Linked DNA regions of Homo sapiens: region 1 is linked to region 2. The links are contacts of gene promoters, found by promoter capture Hi-C in human tissues and cell types (Jung and others, 2019). All regions are on one chromosome and are shown on one strand. Each heading gives the region's core, a stretch centred on a gene start or on the middle of the fragment in contact. The rest is flanking DNA. Distances are from core to core; before and after follow the strand shown. Region 1 overlaps HPCAL1 (hippocalcin like 1). Region 2 holds the start of CYS1 (cystin 1).

Region 1 (5,465 bases), core at 2,137-4,636, 270 kb after region 2:
TTGCACTGTGCTCTGAGCTCCCTCTCATGACTCTCATTCTTTCTCGTTGAGTTTTGTTTTGTCACCCAGCCGGACTCCTGGGCAAAGAGAGGCACAATCTGTTCCCGGTTGGGCCAGCTGCCCTCCAGTAGCTACGCAGGATGCTCTGGCCGGCCTCTGAGGATTCTCTTCTTCTGTCCATCTCATGGCTGAAGACCAAGGCTATGGCCTGTGGGTGGCAGTTGGTACCTCTCCCCGCTGCCTTCCCCCGGCCCCTTTTTGGACAGGATGTTGCTCCCTGGGGCCTGGCTTTGGAGATGGCCAGTGCTGGTTTGAAGCTTCTGTCTTCTGTGTGGGATATCAGTGCCCTGCCAGCTGTTGCAAGTTTTAAACTCAATGTGCCTCTGGATGTGTGTGTAGAGTAGGGGTCCTTCCCCAGCTCCAGGCCCTGTGTGTTTCCAAGTGGGCCCGCAGCTCTGATGTGCAGTGGGTATGCACTGGCAAGCCGTGCACTGTCACAATATTAAAATAACTTCCATGGTAGTTGGTAAATAGCCCCATCACCCCTCTCCTGGGACCCTGGACCTCTAGCACACCATGGAGGCCTGCCCCGTCCCCATAAAACACACCACATTCAAATTACTTATCTCCTCTTCCCCTGCCACTCTGCTGAGAAGGCTGATCTCAATCCTCGGAGTAATGACTCTCTTCTAGGAGCAAGATGATGCTAATTCTCACTAGCATGTGAAGGACTGATAGCACCATATCTCCCTCCAGGACTCCCGGGTGGGAGGTGGGTGTTTGCATAGGCAGGCAGGTGAGCCAGCCTAGTTTGTCCACAGACTTCCATGCAAGTGATTCCTGCTGTTCCCTGGGTCTTCCTTTCTTTTGCTTCTGAACTTGGAGGTTTCTTGAAGTCTGGAGGATTTTTAGGGTGGGCATGGCTTTAGGTGGGACCTCCACTATATGGGTTTGCAAGCTGCCACTGCTTTGACTGCAGACACTGGATTGACCGTGGCCAATGCCAAGTCCAAGAGATCAGGCTGAAACCAGGCTAAATTTTAAGAGCAGAAACAAAACTCATCCTTGCGAAGGGACTTTTAGATCAGTGGCAGATGGCATAGAAAGTCTTTCTGCTGTTCTCTTGTGCTGGGCGTGGCTCAGGGCTGAGGGGAGAGAGGAGAGATGAGGGCAGAAAGAGAAGAGGGGGCAGGCCTCAGGGATGAACACATGGCCCATGGCTGTGCGCTTCCCAAGCAAGCAGTTCTGGAGTGAGGCTTGGGCCTCCATGCCTCCTGGGAGGCTGCACCTCTTGGGATATAGAGAACGCTGGCTTCAGACCCGGCAGGAGTACCGGCGGCTGTGTGGTGCATCCTGCACAGAGCTGTTGCTTTCTAACTGGGTTACTGAGCTGTCGAAGGAGCAGGGATGAAGACTCCCTTATTAAAAACTAAACAAAACACAACACGAAAAAGCCAGAACAAAACAAGCAGACGGTTGAGGACTGCAGTGAACTCATTAACCCTACAGCTTTGATCTCGAAGTCTCGGCCGCTCCTGGCTCAGAGGACCCTGGGGACGTGGTCTTTGATGCTTGCTTTCCCCATAGGCATCACTTCGACCAGCGTCTGTGTGGGGTGTGCAGCAGCCCTGAGCCAAGGATTAATTACGTAACAAGCCCAGATCCCATCCCTGCCTGAGCAGGCCATGTGCCAGCAAGGGGGGCCCCGAAGTGCCGCTAGGTGCCTCACGATTAGCATAAGGCCCGTTTATCCAGGAAGCCAGAACCAGTGCACATCTGTTAAGCGCATGCACCAAGCGGCGATTCCATAGTTGTATAGTGATTGTCTTTATGGAACTCCAGAATAGCTTCTTAGATATCACTCTTCAGGCCCTGAAATGGAGCCCTGTGCAAAGAAATGAAGAAAAGCTATCGGGGCATCTGCAGCCACTATTATACCATCTGGCAGCTCAGAAATATTTTATAATCAAATGAGTAAGACGGGCGTCCCACACTCCACAGTACTCTGCTCCCCCTTCCCTTCCTCCCAGGACTTGCTCTGTCTCTGTCTCTTTCTCTGTGTCTGTCTGTCTGTCTCTATGTGTCTGTTTCTCTCTCCCTCTTTCTGTGTGTGTCTCTCTCTGTGCCTGACTTTCTGTCTCTTTCTGCTTCTCTCTCTGTGTCTGTCTCTGTCTCTCTCTTTCTGTGTGTGTCTCTCTCTGTGCCTTTCAGTCTCTTTCTGCCTCTCTCTATGTGTCCGTTTCTCTTTCTCTCTGTGTGTCTCTCTCTCTGTGCCTTTCAGTCTCTTTCTGCCTCTCTCTATGTGTCCATCTCTCTCTCTTTTTCTGTGTGTCTCTCTCTCTGTGCCTTTCAGTCTCTTTCTGCCTCTCTCTATGTGTCTGTTTCTCTCTCTCTCTCTTTCTGTCTCTCTCTGTGCCTGTCTTGCAGTCTCTTTCTGCCTCTCTCTGTGTGTCTGTCTCTGTCTCTGTATGTGTCTGTCTCTGTTTCTGTCTGTCTTGCTCTCTCTGTTTCAATCTCTCTATCTCTGTGCCTGCCTGTCTGTCTGTCTCTTTCTTTCTGTCTCTCTGTGTGTGTCTCTCTCTCCGTCTTTGGGACAGACTAGAGGAACCTTTTTCCCAGGAGTGATAATACTGTACTCTGCGTTTTTGCCACTTGCTAGCTGGGTGACCTTGGGCGGCTTTCAAGTTCCCTTATCCTGGGTTTCTTCATTTGTAAAATGGAAGCACTACTTCACAGTGCTGTTGTGTGGGTCAAGATGAGATGAATGTGACCTACTGTGGTACTATTTATTATTTGTCCTAGAAAAACTTTTTTTTTTTTTTGAGACAGGGTCTTGCTGTCACCCAGGCTGGAGTGGTGGCACAATCTTGGCCTACTGCAACCTTGACTTCCCAGGCCCAAGCGATTCTCCCACCTCAGCCTCCCAAGAAGCTGGGACTACAGGTGTGAGCCACCACACCCAGCTAATTTTTGTATTTTTTGTAGAGACAGGGTCTTGCTATGCTGCCTGGGCTGGTCTCGAACTCTTGGGCTTAAGCGATCCTCTCACTTCAGCCTCCCAAAGTGCTAGGATTATAGGCATAAGCCACTGCACCCATCCAGAAAAACTTTTAAAAATTTTGTGTTTTAACTTTTTCTGAATATAAAAGTGATACATGCATGTTCACTGTAAAATAGAAAATATAAAGAAACTAGAAAACTATTTATGACGCCCCTCCCCCACCACAAAAGGGGCAAGGACTGCGAACTTTTGCCGTATTTTGGAAGATTTCCTAAGTCACACAAGCACACAGATGGTCTGTTGATCCAAACCAGGAAGAACAATTGTGGGAATAAGTGGAAGTGTGAGTGTGTGGGTGTGTCTGAGTGTGTGCCCTGGGGGTGTGTGTGTCTGTGTATGTGTGAGAGAGCCAGGCTGTGTGTGTGTGTGTATGCATGCAAACACTTATGTGCAATGCCTTGGGGTCCTCAGACCCCCCTTGGTCCATCAGGGGCTGGTGGCCTCCCAGTAGGACACTAGCACAGCTGCACTCATGTCCTTCTTTGAGGGGGGGTGACGGGGAGAAAGTTGGGGAGCAGCAGTGACTGCTGATGTTGTGGGGGCCATGGGGAGCCTCCTGGTATTCTGTCTCGAGGCTCTGGGGATATGGTGGGAGAAGCCCTCATGCCAGAATTGGGAGGGGATGGAATGGGACTGACCCCATCACAGCCCACGTGCCTCATTCAGGGCTTGGCTGTGGAGTCTTGGGGGAGGTGCTCCCTCATCCTCAAATGTTAACTTTGTCTGCCTGGCCCCAGTCCCCTCTGTGGCTTTTTTCCTCTTTCAATTGGGAGGCAGTTCTGTCTTAAAGAGATGTTTAACCCTCTAGGTCTCCGTGCAGGCATTTTTGTTGTGAGCCAGTCAGGCTATAAATGGTCCATTAAAAGCACTGTCCAGTTGACATAACCGGTCTACCAGGCTGAGACCCACAGACCCGGGACTGGCATTTATTTATGGATATGATGTGCAAGGAGAGTGTTTTCCAGTAGCAGGCGTTGGCATCATCAAACAGAATGAAGTGTACTGTGTTTTCACCATGATAGTACAAAAACGAGACTGTGAGAGCTTCTCACTTCTCTCCCCTTCCTCCCCTTCCTTCTCCATGTCTTTGTGCTCCTCCACTGCTCCCTCCCCAGCACAGACAGGCCCTGGCTCCCTCCCCCCACCCTCTTCCTTCTCTCTCCTTCTAACTGGGGTCAGGACCACCCTGGAGGATGTTAGATTTTAAACATTTGTTCCTCTTGTCATCCCCACCACCCCACCCACCCACCCAGATTAGTTTCTAAGGGATTTATATTTGTTTGCAGAGTGGTGCGAACTGTTTTCATCCTCAGAGGAGCAGAGTGCTCATAGATGAGTTTGACATTACTGGGATTCACTTTCAGAAGTCTCTAGAGAGCCCCGCACCGCCCCCGCCCCCCGCAGGTGCTGGAGTTCAGCCTGACACACAGGCCGGCCTCAGTGAGAGGGAGTGTCTGCCTCCCTGGCATCCGTGACCCATACGGTGGGCGCCTGTTCTTTAGAACAACTTGCTCCTTCCGTCGTTGGCTTGGTCACCCAGCCCCCGGCCCACCCTTTTCTGAGCCTGTCATCCACACCAGGCAGAGCCCTGTCTCAGAGTCTCATGGGGAGCAGGGCCTTCAGGGAAGGCCCATGTGCTGGGACTGACTTGGCTCACAGGAATTTCCTGATGGTATAAAATGTGCCCCCCAGCGCCTGATAATGGTCACTTCGCCTAAGTTCCAGCCCCAGATGTGGACCACGGTGGGGCAAAGGTGGGCGTGGGGAGGAGGAAAGAGGTTTAAAATGGCCACACCCACTACTTCTCCTTTGGAAGTGCCTCCTGCCACCCTGGGGTCCCAGGAGCTGATCTGTGGGTGTCTGTCCTCAGCACCCACCCTGCTTTTCCTTCAGGCCCCGCTCTGGCTGTCTGGGCCTTTCTGGTGCTGTTCCTCACAGGTTTAAACACTCCAGCAGCAGCCTTTCCCATGGCACTGTGTCTGCGGGGCGGGGTTGGGCATTTTCTGAGGCTTCCTGTGTTTCACGGGGATCCAGTATGAAGCCTGGCACGGAGTATGGGCCAAATCGGTTTAATGTTTAGCTCCCCAAACCCTTCACTTCTGTGTCCTCATTAATTCAGACAAGGTTGGGTTTAGCAAACTGTGTCTCAAACATAAGAAAATGCAGCGTGGGAATGGGGGAGGGGAGGAGTGCTGTAGAAGGACCATTTCAGAAGCCCTGGTTTACAGGAGAAAGATTGGTATCTTCATAAGTCACTCTTAAGCTTGCATTTGTTCATGCTTTAACACAGTGATTAGATACCTACTGTAAGCCTAGCATGGTGGGGATATAAAAGCAAGATCAAGTTCAAGGGGGCAGGGATTTAGGGTCAGTGAGACGGACCTCTTAATCACTTATTTTGTAC
Region 2 (6,200 bases), core at 451-2,950:
CCATCGAGCTGCAGACTTCTTTAAGGCAAGGGCTATGCTGTGTGGCCTCATCCCTAGCACCCACAGCGGGACCGGTGCTCAAAGGATAGCTGGAAAATGACTTAAAGAGCGAGCAGTCACCATGATGAATAATATCAGCAAATCAGAGGGCACAACATTCACTCTTGCTATTTGCCTCTCATTTTCACCTCCGAGTTTCCAAAGCACTTGAAAATGAACACTAAAATTAACTGCCTCCTTGCTATGTGTGAATTCCTCCCAAATTTCTCAGCTATTTGTCCAGGCAGTGTTATATAACTGCAGGCTGATGTGGTATTAAAGGAATCTTGTTATATAATTCAGCCCTACTCACTGCAGCTCGCTTTTCCTCTTTAAAGACCGTAAGGGAGAGGAGCAGGGAACCAGGGCCAGAGGGAGAGAGCTCTGTGCACTGTCGCCTGGGGCTGTCCCTCTCCCCCACCCTCCCTGGGGCCTTTTCAGGATTCCTTGGTGCGGTAGCCACCCAGGAAGGCATCTTCCTCGGCTCCCAGCGGCTGCTAAGCAAAGCCTCCCGGGCCTCAGGGAGGAGGACGAGGCCCTTGGCATCCTCCCCGAGCCCGGGAGCGGATGTTAAAGATCTTGTTCATTCAGCTCTGCTGGAGCGAAGACGGTTGCCAAACCAGAGTGCTTGTTTTATTGTTTTTTTAGAACAGCAGGACTGTTATTACGAGTATTCAGGGAGAGAGAATAGGAAGCGCAAAAGAGATTCCGCAGCATCCTAAAAATATCAGTAACATGAGAATTGCCTGCCCAGCAAGGCAAGGATCTGGACCGGTGGGCGCGGCAGGGCGCTTCTGAGCCACCGTCTGGCTGCCGTGCCACCACCGCCGGCGCCCCGCTCCAGGGCGGCCCGGGAAGGCCAGGCGGGGCCGCGGGCCCGAGGGGAGCCGGGAGCCCGGCGCGCTCCGCCTAGGGGTGTCCTTCCTCGGCCGCTCCCAGCGCGATCGCCCCCACGCCTGGACACAGACCCGGAGACGGGGCAGAGAGGGAGGAAACCTGGGGGCCCAGGGGCGGGGAGGCCGGGGCAGCGGGGAGCACGCAAGTCGGAGGCTGGAAGGGGGCGCAGCGCGACCGGCGCCCAGGGCTGGGGCGGGGACGCGCGGCCGGTGAGTGGGGTCCCCGCCGTCCCCCGAGGCCCTGCGGCTCCCACACTCACCGCGCTCCCCGCGACCGCGGTGGGTCGGAGCCGGGCTGGGCGGCGCGGGGCGGGCTCCGGGGGGCCCCAGGCCGCCGACTCGGCCAGCAGCTCGTCCAGCAGGCGCAGCGTCTCGTCCCTGCCGTCGGGGGGCGCCACGGGGCTGGGGTCGCGGCCGGGCGCCTCCTCCGCGGCTGCCCCCGGGACCTCGGCCGCCGCCACCGGCACCCGCCGGCGGGTCCCGCCCTCCAGGGCTGCCGCTCCGGGCCCCGCGGGGAGGCTCTCGGGGCTGCGCCGCCGCCTCAGAGTCCGGCTGCTCCGGCTGCTGCCGCTGCCCATGGCGCGCCCGCCGCCTCCCGGACCGCCGAGGGGGCCCCCATGAGGGGGCGCGGCCGGGGGCGGGGACGCTAGGGGGTGCGGCCGGGGCGGGCTGCAGGGGGAGGCGCGGGGCGAGGTCCGGGAAGCGACCGCGGCCAGGGGCTAGGGTTCCCGGGCGGGGGTCGCGGCCGGAGGACGGGGGTGCGAGCCGGAGCCTGGGGAGGGGCGGGCGAGGCAGGGCTGCATAGGCGTCCCGAGGGGGCGCACACCGGCCCTAGGGAGGGGCGGGCCCGAGACCCCGGCGAGGAGCACCGGGTGCGGGCGCGGCCTCCCCTCCCGGGTCTCCCCCTACAGTCCCCCCACTCCCGCCCACGGGTCCCCTCGCTCCCCGCCGTCGGGTCAGCCCTGTCCCGGCCTTCTGGAATTGCTGAACCCTGCGGGGGGCCCGGCTGAGTTTGTTCATTTATGGAAACGCTCCCCAGACGACGCTCGCCGGGCCCGTGGGAGGCCGCGGGAGCTTGGGGGGACTTCCCAAAGCCTGAGCCCCCTAGCGATGCGCGGGGTGGGCGGGGGAAAGACCCTGAGGGCTGCGCGCGCTGCGTTCGCGAGGTCCGGCCGTCAGTGCGCCCCGACCTTTCAGTGTCCGCCAGGCCTGAGACGCCCCGGGAGGGAAGGGGCGATCCTCCGGGCACCAACAGCCCCCTCCGGCCTTCTCCTTCCCTCTGTTGCCCCAGCGGAGACTGGATGTGTGAAGGTTGAGCCTCATCAAAACCTCCAAATAGTCACTACTTTTGGGAAAGAAAAACTTTGAAAATGAAGGAGAAAGGCAAAGCAACCCCCACCTCGCCCTCCCCCCGCCACAGGAAAGAAGCAAAAGGAAATACCTAGGTGGTGGTCATAAGTCTAGCTTTTGGTCTCGGATTTTTTTTTTTTTTCCCTTAACCGCTTTTCTTTTTAAGTGAACTAACCACAACCCAGACTAGAAAACACTCCAAAGCTGCCGAATTCAAACCCAGCGAGCCTTCCTGTTGGTTGGTTCTGTGTTTTACTTAAATGTGATTACTTCCTTCCCTTGCCCACCTCCTGCAACTTTAAATTCCAGCCTTTCCAAGACAGGGCAATTCAAAAGTCCTGGGTTTAACTCACCTATCTTGACTTGACATTAACTTTTATCCTGATTGATTGGATTCCAGAATAATTGTGAAAATGGAATTTCGGCTAAACTTTCCCAACCACAGACTTGAAATTCTACTATTTTATCACTTCAGGAGTAGACATTAAAAAACATATGCCTAAGAAAATGGAATAAAAATGGGACTCAGATTCACATCCATTTATTTTTATTATTAAGAGAGAACAAGAGGCCGGGCGCGGTGGCTCACGCCCGTAATCCCAGCACTTTGGGAAGCCGAGGCAGGTGGATCACGAGGTCAAGAGACCGAGACCATCCTGGCTAACACGGTGAAACACCGTCTCTACTAAAAATACAAAAAATTAGCCGGGCGTGGTGGCGGGCGCCTGTAGTCCCAGCTACTCAGGAGACTGAGGCAGGAGAATGGCGTGAACCCGGGAGGTGGAGGTTGCAGTGAGCCGAGATCGCGCCACTGCACTCCAGCCTGGGCGACAGAGTGAGGCTCGTCTCAAAAAAAAAAAAAAAAAAAAGAACAAGAAAGTATTTATAATCTAGCTGGACGTGGTGGCTCATGCCTGTAATCCCAACACTTTCAGAGGTTGAGGCGAGCAGATCACTTTAGGTGAGGAGTTTGAGACCAGCCTGGCCAACATGGTGAAACTGTCTCTACTAAAAATACAAAAATTAGCTGGGCATGCTCACTTGAACCCAGGAGGTGGAGGTTGCAGTGAGCCGAGATCACGCCACTGCACTCCAGCCTGGGCAACAGAGCTGGACTCTGTCTCAAAAAAAAAAAAAGAAAGAAAGAAAAGAAAAGAGAGAGAGAAGAGAGGTGAGACAGAGAGGGAAAAGAAAAAGAAGAGAAAAAAAATGAGGCTGTAATCCCAGCACTTTAGGAGGCTGATGCGAGCGGATCACTTCAGGTCAGGAGTTCGAGACCAGCCTGGCCAATAGGATGAAACCCTGTCTCTACTACAAATACAAAAATTAGCCGGGCATGGTGAAGGGCACCTGTAGTCCTAGCTGCTCGGGAGCCTGAGGCAGGAGTCACTTGAACCCGTTAGGCGGAGGTTGCAGTGAGCCGAGATCGCACCACTGTACTCCAGCCTGGGCAACCAAAGAGACTCCGTCTCAAAAAAAAAAAAAAACAAAACAAACAACAACAACAACAAACAATAAAGAAAAAGCAAAAAGAAAAGAAAAAAAATTTTTTAAAGGGAAGTATTTATGATCCCCCCTGCCTTTTTTTTGAGACGGAGTCTCGCTCTGTTGCACAGGCTGTAGTGCAGTGGCCGGATCTCTGCTCACTGCAACCTCCGCCTCCCGGGTTCAAGTGATTCTTCTGCTTCAGGCTCCTGAGCAGCTGGGATTACAGGCACGCACCACCACATCCGGCTAATTTTTGTATTTTTAGTAGAGACAGGGTTTCACCATGTTCGCCAGGCTGGTTTTGAACTCCTGACCTCAGGTAATCCACCTGCCTTGGCCTCCCTAAGTGCTGGGATTACAGGCGTAAGCTACCGTGCCTGGCCTCTCCCCCCCTTTTTTTTGATGTGCCATCTTAACCATCCAGGTGTAGGATGTGGGGCCAAACACAGATGTCATTTGGGTGCGCTAAGTCTACAGATGTGTCTCGTTTGGAAGCTATTGATATAAGTTTTTAAGAAAACAAATCTCATCTTGAAACTCTTTAAACCCCAAAGAACAACAACACTTAGAGGCAAACGAGATTTTTCTTGAGTTCACTCAGTTTAATGATTTAAAGGAAAACATGTTTTGCTTCTGCCTAAATAGAAGCTAGTCATGTGACTCATGTTTAAATACATCCACAGCTCCCTGTGTTCACCTCCCAGGGCAACCAATTTTTCTGGCCACTCTTGATTCCAACACTGTTTCCCAAAACTTGTCATTAGCTCCGCTTCAGCGGGAGGAATGCCAGAGCCAGCATTCTTTCCACTTTGAGAGAACATTTTAAAATCTGCTACATTTGTAGACCTGGCTTCCATCAAATATGCTGAAAACTCAGATTGATTTTATTAGAAGCTTCCCATAATAAGCAAACAACCTAAAAGCTTTCCGCATGACTAATGTCCCTAAGATCGTCTCTAGAATTTTTGTCCGAAAGAGTTAGCAACGTCTCAGGAATATTGGAGAACTGAAATGGGGTGTAATCCTTCTTAAGAAAATATCTGGCAGTCACACCTGCAGCTGAAGGATTCTTTTATGCGGTGATAGTGCTCGTGGGTGCTGGTGATGGTGGGTGGAAGGTGAAGCCCAGTTTGGGAACTCTCTGCTTAACTCTGGGAAAATAGAACTTCCTTTCCTTAAACAAATTAAACCCTGGAAGAGGACTACAGTTGGTGATACTTTTCGGAAGGACTCGGGCGCCCGAACGATGTTTTCCTTGGTTTCAGGAGTAGCCAGGCATCTACTGCAGATGAAGCCAGTTCCTCCCACCACGACTCATGGACCAGTCATTACAATAGCCTGCCAAACCAACCCACCTTTCAAAACCCCACTCCAGGGCCCCTGCTTCAGGACTCGCAGATCTACTCTCCCTGCTCAGATATCCTGCAGTTTCCCACCAATCATGGCACTCCCAAGCCGTTACGTAAGAAAGATGTGTTGTGCAGGTGCTGGTTCTTATGAATATGCAGACAGATAATATTTGCATTTGGGTGATAAATGAGACGGCATTTGAAACATAAGCAAGCCATGTTTCTATTTTTAATGCTTAATCGGTAACTTGAGAGAGCCACAGTGCTATTAACGAATGCTGATATGTTTGGACAGCAGCAGCCCACATAATTGCTATTGTCTTTTACCAAAGTGTCCAAGCTTTTGTATTTGGTTTCATGGTTTCGGCATCAAGAGGGGAAAACAAAATATAAGGGTGAATCACCATTATTCATTAAGGACAATTAATGAGTTACAGAACTTTTTTCAATATTTACTCAGAAATAAGATACATGAGGTCCTTAGGGTTGGCAGGTCCAGGTCATGGCTGATTTGGTGCGTTCTATAACACTGTAAAAAATTCTGACAGTAAAATGACAATGACTTGTACCCCATCTAAACAAAAGGTTTAGCACTGGAATTTACGATGCATACTTTCCATGACTAGAGCAGTTCTCGTTTAGAGGCATCTCATGGCTTCTGGCTCAAAACAGCAGACCGGGTGCAGAGTTGCCTTCTCTTGGTACTTGCGACTTTGCTGGAATTAAGATAAAAGAAAAAGGGATAGAGGAGGAGTTGTAAGAAGGAGGGAAATCACAAAGGAGAGGTTTCAACGCATTTCTGAAAGATGGAAAACTGACAGTAGAGAGCTGCCAGATGACACAGGCTGAGCAATTGCAGTCTATGCCATGATGACAGACGCTGGAGAGGAAACGGGGTCAATGGACTGACAGATGAGACTCCGGGACACAGTCAGCGGGTATAAAAGGAGATGGGAGTGAGAAGTGGGCATCGGACCTAAGGAGCGATTAAGATCTTTACATGGGACAAGGGCATCATCCCCCACTGACTCCTGCTTATATTTAAGAAAAAAAAATGACCAGGTAGCTGATGTGGTTT

Evidence for each region. The method cuts DNA at HindIII sites, captures the fragments that hold promoters and counts their contacts. A contact is called where the count stands out against the background at its distance.
Region 1: a fragment that was not itself captured here is called in contact with the fragment with the promoter of CYS1 in region 2 in 2 of the 25 tissues and cell types used here (adrenal gland and pancreas).

Annotation. Positions count from the first base shown.
Region 1 is chr2:10,342,657-10,348,121 of GRCh38, forward strand. The region is part of intron 1 of HPCAL1 (hippocalcin like 1); the gene reads left to right. Among named protein-coding and RNA genes, the nearest start is that of HPCAL1, 42 kb to the left of the region's middle. RefSeq lists an enhancer at 1,489-1,989. The HindIII fragment of the contact is 6,918 bases long and covers 1-5,465 here.
Region 2 is chr2:10,078,711-10,084,910 of GRCh38, forward strand. It overlaps CYS1 (cystin 1), which reads right to left and starts at 1,701. Exons shown (of 3, transcript NM_001037160.3): 1 at 1,196-1,701. The coding sequence starts at 1,513. RefSeq lists silencers at 836-1,175, 1,246-1,485, 1,546-1,605, 1,776-2,015 and an enhancer at 4,260-4,319. The HindIII fragment of the contact is 24,294 bases long and covers 1-5,079 here.